2 separate regions of the Homo sapiens genome follow, and region 2 is linked to region 1. Evidence: promoter capture Hi-C in human tissues and cell types (Jung and others, 2019). All regions are on one chromosome and are shown on one strand. Each heading gives the region's core, a stretch centred on a gene start or on the middle of the fragment in contact. The rest is flanking DNA. Distances are from core to core; before and after follow the strand shown. Region 1 holds the start of IFNLR1 (interferon lambda receptor 1). Region 2 overlaps NIPAL3 (NIPA like domain containing 3).

Region 1 (4,077 bases), core at 393-2,892:
TGAGGTCACCTGAGGTCAGGAGTTCAAGACCAGCCTGCCCAACATGGTGAAACCCCATCTCTACAAAAATTAGCTGAGCATGATGGCAGGTGCCTGTAATCCCAACTACTTGGGAGGCTGAAGTGAGAAAATAGCTTGAACCCAGGAGGCGGGGTTGCAGTGAGCCAAGATCACACTATTGCATTCCAGCCTGGGCGACAGAGCTTTTGTCTAAAAAAAAAAAAAGAAAAAAAATCCTGATTAAGCAGAAGCCTTGATGCTAGTCCCAGAAGCATCCTGAAATTTCCAAAAGAAATTTCCCCCGCGGTTAAACTCAGAGCAACTTTTGGACCCACCAAGCTCTGTGAAAATCATTTTCTCTTCCAAAAACTGATGGGACCAAAGCTGATCCCAGTTTCAAATAATTATCAAAAAATTGGAAACGAAATATGATCAGAAAAGAAGAAAGTTGAAAAAGAAAATCCTCATCACCCAAAGACAACAACCATTAATATTTTGGTAATTATTATTCCAAATATCTTTCTATGCATACAGACAGACTCACACACACACACACACACACACACACACACTTTTTTTTTTTTTTTTGAAACTGAGTTTCACTCTGTCGCCCAGGCTGGAGTGCAGTGGCGCGATCTCGGCTCACTGCAACCTCCGCCTCCTGGGTTCAAGCGATTCTCCTGCCTCAGCCTCCCTGATAGCTGGGATTACAGGTGAATGCCACCACGCCCGGCTGATTTTCTGTATTTTTAGTAGAGACGGGGTTTCACCATGTTGGCCAGGCTTGTCTCCAACTCCTGACCTCAGGCGATCCACCCGCCTCACCCTCCCAAAGTGCTGGGATTACAGGCGTGAGCCACCGCGCCCGGCTACACACACACTTTTTTAATGGGCCTATGTTTTAGCACTCGCTTTTCTGTTTCTCAGTGTGTTGCAAACACCTCGGTGTCGATACACACCATTCGGCAACGTCCTCCTAAAGGGCCGCATAATATTGCGCGTCGTGGCGTGTGCCTTACTGGGAAGCTACTGCTGTCCAGGTGAACACCACAGCCTTCGGGGTCAGAAAGACAGCTTTCCCCAGAACAAGCACCTGAAGCTCTGGGGCCTGCCGCTCCCCGGGAGAGAAGTACGTGGAGAAGGGCAGCACGGATCCGCCGGGATCCCCGGGGGCATTAAAGGGAATCGCGTGTGTAAGGCGCGGAGCTCAGCATCCGGCTCAGAAACGCGCTCGGATCCCGCCAATGGCATTGAGGCCGCGTAGCCAAACCGGCCTTGAACTCTCCCTAATCCTGCCAAAATGGCCCGTCCTGGAGCACTGGACTGGCCGTGGGTTATTGATCATCAGCCGGTTTCTTCCCCTCCCCTGCCCTTCCCCCGTGCACGGATTTACTGATTTTTTTTTCCGGGAATTGAGTAAAACAAAACTAAGTGCAGATGAAGCAGAGGTACGGGCGAGTTTCGAGCGCGGGGACCGGCGCGCTCCCCCCCCCCCCTCCCCCCGCGGCGGGGCTGTCCCCAGGGACCTTCTCAGTGAATCCTAGGCGGCAGGGACGGGCCCGCGGCTCTGCGGGCCATTGGCTGCCGACTGCGTCACCTGCCCGCGGTGGGCTAGGAGACGGGAGGCGGGAGGCGGGAGGCGGGGACCTGGGCCCGGGCGGGGACGCCGCGGCAGGAAGGCCATGGCGGGGCCCGAGCGCTGGGGCCCCCTGCTCCTGTGCCTGCTGCAGGCCGCTCCAGGTAAGGGCGCGGGGCCGCGGGAGGGAGGGGGAAGAGGGCTCCCCGGGCCGGGCCGCGCCTACCCTCGGACCCGGAGCTCCTGGGACAGGCACGGGGTCCGCAGCCACCCGAGCCGGGTGCGAATCGGCCCTGCCTACGCGCCCCCAGTTTGCTTCTTCCCAGGACTGAACAGAACCGGGTCTTTGATATTCCTCTCCCGCAGGAAACGAATCCAGTTTCCTAATGCTTCCAGCTTCAGGAGAACTGGAGAAAAAAGACAGCGGCAGTTTGATACTGCATATTTTTTAATAAAGTGCTTTTTAATGTTTCCTAAAGAAAGCACTGATCCCTGCGTGAAAACCACACTTGACCCTAAAGTGTGGACAGCAGGGAAAGTGGGACCGATTGATGTCCCTTCCCGTTCCTGCCAGGCCTCTGGTGGGACGGAGCTCTGGTCGCCTGTGCCCTGCTTTCTAACAAGACGGCTTTCTTTTGGTGGTGGTTGTTGTTTTGTTGTTGTTTTGTTGTTGTTGTTGTTGTTGTTGTTTTCCCACCTCTACTGATGAGTAAGGTGTCAGGTACAAAATTCCTCGCCGTAGGACCCAACCACCAAACCTCACCGCCCACGACTCCAACCGAAGCAGGGAAGAGAAGGTCCAGAAATCGCCCCCAGGATATTTTCCTAGTCTTGGACTCACAGTTTAAAGAGCTGTAAAGGTCCCTGGGCATAATCCAATCATCATAAAAGCCTATATTTATTCAGCAACTTCTTTGTGCCAGGCACCGCATTATTCTGGAAGCCTCACGACCCAGCCATCCTCGGAGGTAGATATTATTTTTACTTTTCCGATGGGAAAACTGAGGCTCAGAGCAATTCAGGGAATTCCTCAAGAAGGATGGCAGAGGTGAGGCACACAGAAGAGAGAAGAGGGGCTAAAGCAAGCCTGGCTAGCTTTTGCCTCCAGGGTAGGCACGTGGGACAGGCTGTCCATCCACTGGGTCACTAGGCCAGCCAGGGATGCTCCAGCCCCCAGTGCCCACAGCAGCGTTCTCTGTGGCTGATGAGGGACCGTGTACCTGTGTGTGGAGGGAGGGTGGGGTCTTCTGTTCCCCTTTCACTGTCAAACCCAGACCTTCTTGTACTTTCACCTGATAAGTATTTAATATACACAACACTAACTATGGTGTGATGATTTAGGAGTAAGTACAGCCAGATCTAAGTTCAAATACTGGCTCCCACACAAACTGACTGTGTAGCCTCAGGCAAGTTAGTTAGCATCTGTCTCTGAGCCTAGCGCCCTTTCCATGGAAGCAGAATGAATGACACCTACCCCATAGGGTGGTCTGTCCCAAGGGTGATTGAGGTTTTACATGTAAAGAGCCAAACTAGTGCCTGGCATCCTTTGAAGGCTTCATAGAGGAAAGTTGCTCTAACTGCTGTTTTTCTCATGTGACCTAGCTCGAATCTGGGGACTGTCCTGCCCATAGGATACCTTACAAGTGGCTTGCAGACAGCCTGGTCTCCTGCTGGTCACCCGTTAGGAAGTCCAGAAGCTGGGAGTAGTAATAGCACTAGCCTCGTGGTGATACAGTCCCAGCTAGAGGACACAGGATGAGGTGGAAGCAGGCACCCACTTTTGGGTCTAGAAGGTGATGGGTAGGCAGCCGAGGCTGGGGACAGCCATCCACAGAACTGGACCCTCCCTCCCTGATGCCATTTTGCAACCCGTATGGATTTCCATCATGGCACATGGGACACTTCAGGACCCTGAATTCTCCATGGGACCATGAGCTCCTATAGGGCAGGAATGAAGTTGTGTTCTTCTTTGAAACCCCTGGCACACCGTGGTCAACAGATCTTGTTTGACTCGTAGTGGTCAATAGATGGAATAGTTGGAATCATAAAGCTCAATAGACCCCATGAGAACCTAGAAGACAAAGTACAGTCAAGAGCTCGGACTTTGGAGTTGGCTAGGCCTGGACTGAATCTGATTCTACAACTTAATAGCTGAGAGGGCCTTGGTTTTCCCATCTGTAACGATTATAATTATTATAATGAATACCTACCTCCTAGGGATGTAATGAGGATTAAAAGAGAAAGTGCAGGTAAACTGTTTAGCACAGAACCTGGCTCACAGAACACAATACACATTAGCTGCTATTATTATTATTATTATTTTATTTATTTATTTTGAGACAGAGTCTCACTCTGTCACCCAGGCTGGAGTGCAGTGGCGCAATCTCGGCTCACTGCAACCTCCACCTATCGGGTTCAAGCAATTCTCGTGTCTCAGCCTCCCAAGTAGCTGAGATGACAGGCGTGTGCCACCATGCCCAACTAATTTTTGTATTTTTAGA
Region 2 (4,063 bases), core at 116-2,615, 270 kb before region 1:
GCAGCAGCAAATCATAGAAAATACCGCTGAGCTGTTTTCAAATCACCCATCTGCCAGTCTGTCTAGGATTTGGCTAAGCTCTCTTCCATTTAGGAAACTAAAATGATCAAAACTTATGACTGTGCCTTACAAGAAGAAAGGAATAAAAGCCATTTAGGGGATCAGGTTGTCAACTTTTTTCCACCTTAGACCCCTCTGATCTCCATGTTGTTTTTTAACTTTTATTGGGGGATAATATTAGACTCACAAAAATGGTGTAGAGTTCCCATGCACCCTTCCTCCAGCTTTCCCCAGTCATATCTTCCATAACCACAGTGCATAATCAAAGCAGGAAAACGACAATGAACACTTACTAACCAAACCACAGACCCTATTTACCAGTTTGTGCCTGCAGTCATCTCCCCTCCATCTTTCTTAAGATAGATAAACAAGGCTTTGTGCTTATGCTGTTAGAGCTTTCTAACCTCATGTGGCCAGTAGATCCCAAGTCTGTGGGTCTACTCCTGTGGTATGGGAGTGGGGTGGGCCTACTGCGCCTGCCCTGAGCCAGCCTTTGTCCAGAATCATCTCACCCACACAGGCCTCCAGCTGTATTCCTGAGCTCCTGATTCCCTGCCTTGACTTCTGTTCTCACTCAACCATGGTGTTTGTGATTCCTTTCAACCTTGACTGGACTTCACGCTTCTTGACCAAGCTTCTTGACCCTGACTTAGCTTATGGCTTCTGGCTGCTCTGGGTCAATGCCTCATGGCCCCTGGTGCTGCTCACAGCATGGGCCCTGGAAGCTGTGCGCCTCGTGTGTTCCTCCTGTGTAGACAGGAACTGCGGCACCACTTGTCTTAAGTGTTGGCAGAGCATAGGGCTTTACAGCCAGGCTTTCACCAAAGGAAAGCACTTAGTTCTTATTGGATTTTTTACTCTGAAGATTTTAGTCACCTATTATGCCATTTAAACAAATTAACAAACAGCTTTATATGATTGCAGCCTCTGAGGCCACTACAGAAAGAAAATGCAAAAAAAAATTAGAGGTGAAATAGAGGAAAAGGGGGCTGTAATGCTAATGATCACTTATTGAGCATTGATGATGTTGCAGTGCTATGCATATTCATAATCTCTAAAATTATACAGAAGAGATTTGTGGTCACTTAGCCAGTGGGGGTTGTGGAGCTAGAAGATAGCAAAACTTGTTAAAGTACACACAGTATGGCATAGGGCACATTTGGATCATACCCATTACAATTCTAGGAGCTAAGTGTTATCACTCCCATTTTATGAATGTGGAGCTGAGGCTCAGAGAGGTTAAGTGATGTTTGCAGAGCTGATGTGCGTCTGTGCTGGGATACAAACCCGGGTCTCTCTGTCTGGAAATCCTGCACATTCTCCATGAACCCATAAATCACTCTACGGGGAGAACAAGTCAGCAGAATCAGCCTCCCTCTGCCCTGGGATAATACCCTGCTGCTAAAGTAGAAGACAGAAATCTAGCAATGGGTCACCCTTACCTGCTGTGATAGCAATGGTTGTGGACAGAATGTAGCCCACACTGGCAATCAAAGAGGAGTCGTACATCTGTGAGGCTTGACTCAAAAACCTTCAACACAAAAGCACTCCAGTCAGTGGGCTGTGGAGACGTTGGAAAGGCTAAGAGCTGACAACAGTAGAGTTTGGTTTGAAATATGAAGATGATACATTTAGGAATGTTCCTTGGGTTTCTAAAAATGCCACCCTCATGTTACAGGACATTGTGTATCCCTAGTCTGGGGCCCATACTTGATTCCCACTCTTCCCCTAGACACACAGCTAAGGCCCATCCCCATTTCCCAATTGAACCATGCCATCATGGTCTCACACCTTTGGCTGCACGGCTCCTGTCACCTGAAATGCCCTTCTCCTCACCCCCCGTATCCCCACCCCACTAAAAAGAGCCATTCCTGCATCTCTTATACCCCTGCCCCCAGAAACTCTTACAGCACTAATCACGTTCTGCCTAGTGTCATAATTATTCTTTTAAACAAAATTTCTTTTTAATTTGAAAATAATGTGATCACTGAAATAAATACAGGAAAAAGAGAAAATTAGAGTCCTTCCTAATCACTCCATCTATGATAAACAATACCCTTGTTTTGGAAGATATTCTTTGCCCTTTCTCTGCATAGTTGCTTACACCATGCTCACCACTCAATTGCTTTTATTTTTTTACTTCGCTTTGTGGCCTAGGCTGGAGTGCAGTGGCAAAATGACAGCTCACCACAGCCTCTAACTACGGGGCTCAAATGCTCCTGCCTCAGCCTCCTGAGTAGCTGGGATTACAGGTGTGAGCCACTGCATGCAGCTTGGCTGTACTAGTTTCTTCACTGGCTGTCCCCCAGCCAGGGCCGTGAATGCCTGAGGGCAGTGAGTGACTACCCTCATCATCTCTGTGTGCTGAGCACCCTCAGTGGGCTGCACTGGCTAGGGAATGAGTAGCTCCTTAGGAGGTGGGCGGTGGCATCTGAGCCATGTTTGTGACACCTGGAGTGCTCAGCACAGGGCCTTTGACTGGCAGGGGCTTCCAGGTGATGACTGGAATTGTTGTAGTGGGACCAAAAATAATAACCAAAATAACAATAGCAAGGCCAATAATCATAGAAGCAGCTCATGTTTACCGGGCATTTCCCTAGAGACATTCTCATAAGAGCTTCATGTGATTCTCTTAGGTAGGGACTGTTGTTCTCATTAGCAGGTGAAGAATCTGTCTTGGAGAAGCTGAGTAGGCGACAGAAGAGCAGAGCAGTGAGGGCATGGGCTGGGGAGCCAGACACCTGGGTTCAGATCTCAGCTCCGCCACTTTCTAGCCTCTTACTCTCTCCGCATCAGTTCCTCGTATGCAAAATGGGGATAATATCCTGTACATCAAAGGAGTGTTGTAAGGACCAAATGAGCTGGTTCCATAAAGCACTGAGAAAAGAGCTGGGCTCACACCGGGCCAGCAGCAGCTGCTCCTATGGTGCCTGGAGGCCATGTAGCTGGTGGACCTTCAGTCTGAGCCTGAGCTTCCCAGGTTGAATCAGCCTTGTGCGCTGCTGAGTCCTGTGTACCTACACAGGTTTTGTCACCTACAAGATTCCTAGAGCCTCTCCTCCCAGGCCCTCTGTTGGGCTCCAGGACTCAAACGCAAACAAGACACAGGCCCTGCCCTCAGGCTGCTGCCTTTTATTTAACTTCATGCTTAGAAAGAGGAGGGGGCACTTTGCCTTCCACTCAGGAAGATTTGGAGGTGATATACTGAAGTCAAGAAATGACAACTTTTCTTTCCAACCCAGCAGACAAGCAGGTGCCTCCTAGGGATGGCCATGCTTCCGAGGCCCCTGAGACGATCATCTGCCCCGGAGAAGATGGGAAGTAAGGCTGCCTCCAACCACAAATTTCTCACATTCTGGCCAGGTGTTGTGGCTCATGCCTGTAATCCCAGTACTTTGGAGGCCAAGGTGGGTGGATCACTTGAGGTTAGGAGTTTGAGACCAGCCTGGCCCACAAAGTGAAATCTCGTCTCTACTAAAAATACAAAAATTAGCCGGGTGTGGTGGCATACACCTGTAGTCCCAGCTACTTGGGAGGCTGAGGCAGGAGAATCGCTTGAACCCCAGAGGCAGAGGTTACAGTGAGCCGAGATGGCTCTACTGCACTCCAGCCTAGGCAACAGAGTGAGACTCTATCTCAAAAAACAAACAAACAAGCAAACAAACAAAAATTATCACATTCTGAGGGAGTGGGGAAAAATCCATCCACTGCTGGCTTCGTATTTCTTTCTTTTTTCTTTTTTAATTCTGTGTCTCAGCTTCCTGAGTAGCTGGGACTACAGGCATGTGCCACCATGCCCAGCTAATTTTATTTTATTTTTTTGTATTTTTAGTAAAGACGGGGTTTCACCATGTTGGCCAGGCTAGTCTCAAACCCCTGGCCTCAAGTGACCCACCCACCTCAGCCTCCCAAAGAGCTGGGATTACAGGCGTGGGTCACTGAGCCTGGCCTGGCTTCGTCTTTTGAGTGGCAGGTGTCCCTCCAGGTGACAACTCAGCAAATT

What was found. The method cuts DNA at HindIII sites, captures the fragments that hold promoters and counts their contacts. A contact is called where the count stands out against the background at its distance.
Region 2: a fragment that was not itself captured here is called in contact with the fragment with the promoter of IFNLR1 in region 1 in 1 of the 25 tissues and cell types used here (IMR-90 fibroblasts).

The regions. Positions count from the first base shown.
Region 1 is chr1:24,184,854-24,188,930 of GRCh38, reverse strand. It overlaps IFNLR1 (interferon lambda receptor 1), which reads left to right and starts at 1,642. Exons shown (of 7, transcript NM_170743.4): 1 at 1,642-1,740. The coding sequence starts at 1,683. RefSeq lists a silencer at 1,380-1,869. The HindIII fragment of the contact is 7,685 bases long and covers 1-4,077 here.
Region 2 is chr1:24,456,416-24,460,478 of GRCh38, reverse strand. It overlaps NIPAL3 (NIPA like domain containing 3), which reads right to left. Exons shown (of 12, transcript NM_020448.5): 9 at 1,503-1,591. Among named protein-coding and RNA genes, the nearest start is that of NIPAL3, 43 kb to the right of the region's middle. RefSeq lists an enhancer at 2,369-2,870. The HindIII fragment of the contact is 5,272 bases long and covers 1-4,001 here.